Linked DNA regions of Homo sapiens: region 2 is linked to region 1. The links are contacts of gene promoters, found by promoter capture Hi-C in human tissues and cell types (Jung and others, 2019). All regions are on one chromosome and are shown on one strand. The core of a region is centred on a gene start or on the middle of the fragment in contact, and the rest is flanking DNA. Distances in the headings are between cores, read along the strand shown. Region 1 overlaps KRT7 (keratin 7). Region 2 holds the start of KRT81 (keratin 81).

Region 1 (3,491 bases), core at 465-2,964:
GTATACCATGGGCATATTCCCCACAGGTAGTTGGAGCCATATCATCGGTGTACAGACTGCAGAGTATTCTGTAGCATGGTGGAATATGATAATTTCATCCATTCCCCATGGCCTCCCTCACAATAGAGCTCGTGCACCTACAGAACCTCACAGTGAGAAGTCACCACAGCGCACCACACTGTCCCTTTCCTTATCCCCTTTAACCCTGCCAGATTCTCGTTTGAGACACTGCTAATGGGCCCTCAGGGAGCCAAGGGTGGGCAGAATGAAGTAACTTAATGTGTGCTGGGTCTGGGCCCCCTTGCTGCCTGGTGACTCAGCCCACTCCCAGCTGTTCTCTCTTTTCTTTCCTTTGTGAGTGGGGAATCCCAGGGTGGGCGTGGGCATAGGATCCTGCCCTAAGTCCTGATGTCCCGTCTGGTCCCTACAGGAGTTGACAGAGCTGCAGTCCCAGATCTCCGACACATCTGTGGTGCTGTCCATGGACAACAGTCGCTCCCTGGACCTGGACGGCATCATCGCTGAGGTCAAGGCGCAGTATGAGGAGATGGCCAAATGCAGCCGGGCTGAGGCTGAAGCCTGGTACCAGACCAAGGTGTGAGGCCACCAGGGGCGTATTTCCTCCTGCCAGGGTCCTTGGTGGCAGCTTCCCTTACTCCTCAACTTGTCTCAAGCCTTCAGGGCCTGGGTCCCACTGTTCTGGCAGGCACCAGTGGTTTAAGTCTGTGGTGCTCAGCCCTGGAGAAAATCCCAAGATGGGAGGACAGGGCAGAGGAAATAGATATGGATTAATCATTATAATAGCTAAAATATGGCAAGTACTTACACAGTACTAGGCTCATGTAATTATTGACTCATGTAATCCACAGAACAGCCCTATTAGATAGGCATCATTATTACCCCCATTTTGTTTTATTTAATTTAATTTATTTTATTTCTATTTTTTGAGATGGAGTCTTGCTCTGTCACCCAGGCTGAAGTGCAGTGGTGCGATCTTGGCTCACTGCAACCTTTGCCTCCCTGGTTCATGTGATCCTCGTGCCTCAGCCTCCTGAGTAGCTGGGACTACAGGTGTGCACCACCATGCCTGGCTAATTTTTTTTGTATTTTGAGTAGAGACGAGGTTTCACCATGCTGGCCAGGCTGGTCTCAAACTCCTGACCTCAGGTGATCCACCTGCCTCGGCCTCCCAAAGTGCTGGGATTATAGGCGTGAGACACCGCACCCAGCCTATTACCCCCATTTAAAGATGAGGAAATTGAGGCACAGAGAGGTTAAGTAATTTGCCTAACTGCATACAGCTAGTAGATGGAAGAGCAGGGACTAAATCCTGAATGTGAGGGCCCTAGACCTGGGAGGCTTAATCATCACATCTACTTCATGGTGGCAGGACAGTTGATGGTGCAGGGGCTGAGGGAGCAGGAGTGGGTGCTGGGGTGAACCAGTGTTCCTGAAGAAGGGATCCCGAGGCAAGGATTGAGAGGTCTGCCCCTGCAGAGATAGAGAGTCATTCATGGTGCCTGGGTGAGAACACAAGTATGCCAACAAGAAGACCTGGGTTCAGGCCCTCGTTCCATCACTGATTGGCTGTGTGATCCCTGGGTGGTGCTTTCTCTTCTCCAAGACTCACTCTCCTCACCTGTGAAATGGGTGTTCTGGGTGTTGAATGGGTGCGAATCTCAAACTCTCAGTGATTCTCCAGCAGAAGGGCATGGTGGGAGTGGAAGAGCCCTGGGGTCCATGGGGATGGGACTGCGGAGCCTTGTCTGTCCTCCCTGCCTGGCTTGGAGGAGAATGAATCCCTTCCTCACACTGCTGTCTGGTCTCCTGGCATCGGGCAAAGGTTGATGGGAGTCAGACTGTCCTTCCCTGAAAATATAAGTTGGGAGGGGCCTTGGGTGGGGAGAGGGATGAGTTACCTGTACTCACTGCCCATCTCTCTGCCATAACTCTCTGTATGGCCCCTCCAGTTTGAGACCCTCCAGGCCCAGGCTGGGAAGCATGGGGACGACCTCCGGAATACCCGGAATGAGATTTCAGAGATGAACCGGGCCATCCAGAGGCTGCAGGCTGAGATCGACAACATCAAGAACCAGGTGGGACAAGTCCTCCTGGCTTCCCCTGCTACTTGGGGCATGCAGGGGTGGCCAGCTGAGGCCAAACTCAGGATGTGGAGCAGGAGGTTCCCATCTCCCGGCCAAAGCTGGTGCCACTGTCTCAGACCCCCTTGTGAGATCTCCAGCACAGAATGTTCTTGGCCAGGTCCTGGCATGGGCTGATGGGAGAAAGGTCCTGGATGTGCACAGAGCCTGTGGAGGGAGACTCAGGCTGGCTGGCCAGAAGAAAGCCACCACTGGTTCCACATTGATACTGAGCACTCTGCTTGCACCTGGTTCTGGCTGCAGGGCGCTGTCCCTGGGAGCTCATCATTCATTGCAGGGACAGAGGACAGCAGAAGACCTTATAATGACTCACATGGCCCTTTCCCACCCACTCCAACCTCACTTTCCACGATTCCCCTCACTCTGCTCTGGCCATGCTAACCTGCTTCCTGCATCTTGCATTTGCCAAGAATGGTCATGCTTCAGGGCCTTTGCACTTGGCGTTGCCTCCCCCTGGAATGTGGTTCTCCCAGCTCTGTCCATGGTTGTTGTTTTCTCCTCCCTGGGGTTTAGGAAAAGACCCCTTCTCAGAGACGGCACTCTCAAACACCAGCCCCTCTATCGGCAGCCTGTCTGAAGTTCTTTGAAGCCCCTGTCACTCTCTGAAATGTTCTGTCTTATTCATTAAGTGATTGATGGTCCCTACCTCCACTGGAATATAACAGATGCCTGGAGAGCAGGGACCCTGTCTGTCTGGTTCACTGCTCCTCTCTTCCAGCACCTGGCACATGGCAGGGGCACGGGTCTCAGATGAGAGACTGCCTGGGAGGATGAGCTTTGCTGGAAGCTGGGGTTGGAGGTGTTGATGGGGGAAGGGCCCCCAGCCCTGGCTGAGTAGTGTGTGGCCAGGGCAGCTCAGCCTGTGCAGGTGTCTGCAGTGGAGAGAGGGGGAGGGCACACATGTGGAAGCTTCGGAAAGCTGATTTCCAGATGAGCTGTGGGTGGTGGGGGGATGTGAGGGTGATTTACCCACAAATGTCCTCCCCTTGGAGCCCTGTGGGCCTGTTTACAGGAGGGCGGAGGCTGCCTTGGGGCACAGAGGCAGGGCCGTGAGTCACCCCATGAAGTGGGCCAGCTTCCAGGCCAGGAGGGGAAGCACAGAATAACAAATGGTGGTTTCCCAAACCCTGCAGCCTCTACTACATCCGGTTCTCCTCTCACACAACAGGGCGGATCCAGGCCTATAGCCAGGTGTCTACCACCACTGAGGGGCGTCATGGGGAGCTACAAGGGGTCTCCAGAGGCAGCGGGGATGGCGTTGGCTCTGGGGGCACCAGTGTGACAGGGCAGGGCACCGAGCTGTGGCCGAGGGGCAGAGTGTCAGAGGGC
Region 2 (3,491 bases), core at 381-2,880, 49 kb after region 1:
CCTCCTCTTACACAGGTGTCTGGGCAAAGATTCCACAAAGGAAAAGACCCCGCCACCCTCGGTCAATCTAGTGGTCATGGCCACTCACCCTACCTGGGAGTTCTTATTGTCTAATCCAGTGTATTTAACCTAAACCCCATTCCTGTGCCCAGCATCCCTCTTGCCCGCACTCACTTCTTCTTGTAGCCCTCCAGCACCTCCTGCACGTGGTTAAGCTCTGAGGCCAGCCTCCCGCTGTCGGCCTCCACGCACTCGGCCTCCCGCCGCAGAGTCTCGATGTAGCCCTCAAACAGGGGCTCCAGGTTGCTCTGGCAACACTCGCGGTTCTGGTAGAACTGCAGCTTTGTCTCCAGCAGTTTGTTCTGCTGCTCCAGGAAGCGCACCTGCCATTCGGTGTGGGAAGGTGGGGCAGATGGTGTCTGGTGCCCCAAAGCCAGCTCTGGGGGCTCGCAGGGGAGGTGCTTTAATGGGAACCCCCAAATCTGGAGCTTATCTGAGATTGAGTAGAGGTGGGCAGTGGGAGACAGACAATTTCTGGATTTCCTGGTCATGATCTGTGTCTAGATTTCCCACTCAGGAGTGGAGCAAGGGCTGGGTGGTGTCAGTGCCTGCTCCCTGGGGAGTTGAGTGACCCCCCCCCCCCAACCCAAGCAGATGAACAGAAGTGGAGGCTCAGTCCCTCACTATGAAACTAGGTGATCAGCAACCCACACAGGCAGAGTACTCAGGTTCAGATCACAGATGAGGTTTCTGGGGATGGTGCCAGGAAGAGGGTGTCACAGGCCATCTGGAAGGGAGCTCAGCTGTCCCAGCCCTTCCCCTGTGTCATCTGGAAGTCAGTGCACCCTACTCTCTCACCCTGGGGCTGCCCAAACCCCTCTGAGTTCAGCAGCAGTGGTCACATGCCCCCCTCCCCCAACTCCCTGATGTCTAGCTTGTGCCCCAGAGCAGCCTGGCCACACTTTTCCTTCACAAGCTCCCTCTATCTGAACTGTCAGCTGAGTCTGCATCTTGAGTGCCTGTGTGTGTGTGTCTGTGCATGTGTCTGTCTGTCTGTGTGTCTGTGTGCCTCGCCCATCAGACTGGGATCTCAGGCAGGCAGAGGTCTTTGTGCCTCTGACTCCATCCTTAGTGCCCGGCCCTGGCTGTGTAGGTGGTGGGGGTTCAGGAAGGGTGTGATCCAGGACACCCACCTTGTCGATGAAGGCCGCGAACCTGCTGTTGAGGGACTTGATCTGCTCCTTCTCCTCCTGCTTCACGCACTGCGCGTTGGGGTCGATCTCCAGGTTGAGGGGCGTGAGGAGGCTCTCGTTGACCGACACGGTGGTGATGCATGGGGGACTGGGCCCGCACACGCCCCCGGAGCGGTAGCCGAAGCTGCGTCCGCAGGAGCCGGCCCGAAAGCCTCCGCACACGCTGTGGCTGCCGAAGCCCCCGGTGAGGCCGCGGTAGCAGGAGATGCCACGGTAGGGGGCGGCGGTGATGCAGCAGCGGCCGGGCCGCGGCCCGCAGGCCGAGATGCAGCTGAAGGCGCGCCCACCAAATCCTGATCCGCAGGTCATGATCCTCCTGGACGTTTGGGTTGCAGAGGACAGGATAGGGGACCTGGAGTCCTGATGGAAACTCCAATGTGCTCCTCAGGGCACCGCAGCCCTATTTATGCGCAGATTCTGAAGGGGCTTGGCTGTGAAGATGATGTTGGGGCAATTTGCGCTTTATGGGCTTGGGTGGTTAGCCGGGTCTAACGCCTCTCCAGAATGTGCTTTAATGGGGGAGTGGCCTGCACCCTCTTCTTTGTAAAAGATGTCAGTCTTGGGCTCTGGGGGAGTCAGCATGTTTCATCTTCAAAGTGTCTTGCCAGCAGGGCATTCCTTCATCTGCAGGCATTGGGGAGGGAAGGGGAAGGCAGAGGAGAGGACGAGAAGGAGGAGTAGAGCCTGGCGAGGGGAAGAGAAGGGAGGCCAGGTGCTGGGAGAAACTGGGAGGAGGAGACCTGTGTGTTAAGTGTGATGTGGGGAGAGGGGTTTCAGGAAAGGCTGAGGCATTAATAAATACCATCTCTCATTTCCATCACAGCTGTGGCTAAAGTGCTCCTGAAACACAAATCTGGATTTCCCCATCTCCAGATTTTTCAGTTGGCAGCTGAAAACCATCTCACTTTTCCTACCATGGGAACAGTCAGCAGATTATTAAATATTTGTCTTTTATCTTTTTTATGATGAAAGCTTTCAAATATTGAGGAAAATTGGAATAATACAACACACATGCATTGATGCTCCACCTGTTTACCCCGATTCAACAGTTAACATTATACCATATTTGCTTTCACAGTTGCCCAATTATTTGAGTGGCAGAAAGCATGGCATGTCACCCTTAAATACATCAGCAGGAATTTCTTAAGAATAAGGAGAGTACTATTTTCTTATTCAGGAAAATTAACAATAATTCCAAAGCACCACTTACTATTCATCTCAGATTCAATTTTCCTAACTGTCCTAAGGATTTTAAAACTACATTTTACATAATTTAATTTGTGGCTCTAGCCCTTGTATTTTCTATAAATTAGAAAGTAAATCTTGAGCTGGGATGTCCAATTTGGTAGACAATAGGCAGATGTGGCTACTTAAATTTAAGTTAGTAAAAACTAAATAAGTTAAAAATCTAGTTATTCAGTTGCACTATCCACATTTTGAGTCCTCAGCAGCTACCTGTAAGTAGTGCCTACCTTATTAGACAGTGCATATAAAGAACACTTCTTTATTATTTATTTTTATTTTATTTATTGTTTATTTTCACATAAAATTCTGTTGGACAGCACTGGGCTAGAGGCTGGATTAGGTTTAAATTAAACATTGTTGGGACAGAATACTTCATAAAATATGCTGTGTAACTCTTATTATATCACCCCAGGAAGCATAAAATGTCAGATTGGTGATGCTAAATTGAATCACAGCTGGGCGCAGTGGCTCATACCTGTAATCCCAGCACTTTGGGAGTCTGAGGGGGGTGGATCACCTGAGGTCAGGAGTTCAAGACCAGCCTCAGTGGAGGAGTTTAAGACCAGAGATGGTGAAACCCCGTCTCTACTACAAATACAAAAATTAGCCCGTTATGGTGGCACGTGCCTGTATTCCCAGCTACATGGGAGGCTAAGGCAGGAGAATTGCTTGAACCCAGGAGATGGAGGTTGGATCACTTCAGTACATTTCCCCCTGTATTAGGAAAAACTGTATAGAGAATTAGAATTAGAAAGAACTGTGTAGAGAAACATGGATCTTAGTTTGATAAGAATATGTTTCTTTTTAATTGGTCACCTACTATGTGATCATCATTATATATCGTAAATGATCTCTAATTCTCACATCAATCATATGAAGTATGTGCCATTATCCCCATTTTACTGATGAGGAAACCAAGGGTCAGGGAGGTTAAATAACTTGCCCGAAGTCTCCCAGCTGGTAAGTGATGGAGCCAGGAGTTGCATTGCCTTC

The links. The method cuts DNA at HindIII sites, captures the fragments that hold promoters and counts their contacts. A contact is called where the count stands out against the background at its distance.
Region 2: the fragment with the promoter of KRT81 here is called in contact with a fragment that was not itself captured in region 1 in 2 of the 25 tissues and cell types used here (neural progenitor cells and small bowel).

Annotation. Positions count from the first base shown.
Region 1 is chr12:52,241,042-52,244,532 of GRCh38, forward strand. It overlaps KRT7 (keratin 7), which reads left to right. Exons shown (of 9, transcript NM_005556.4): 5 at 431-595; 6 at 1,971-2,096. Among named protein-coding and RNA genes, the nearest start is that of KRT7-AS, 4.7 kb to the right of the region's middle. RefSeq lists enhancers at 1,800-2,775, 3,169-3,491. The HindIII fragment of the contact is 8,834 bases long and covers 1-3,491 here.
Region 2 is chr12:52,289,904-52,293,394 of GRCh38, forward strand. It overlaps KRT81 (keratin 81), which reads right to left and starts at 1,631. Exons shown (of 9, transcript NM_002281.4): 1 at 1,194-1,631; 2 at 175-383. The coding sequence starts at 1,562. All of the region lies in intron 2 of KRT86 (keratin 86), which reads left to right. The HindIII fragment of the contact is 10,526 bases long and covers 1-3,491 here.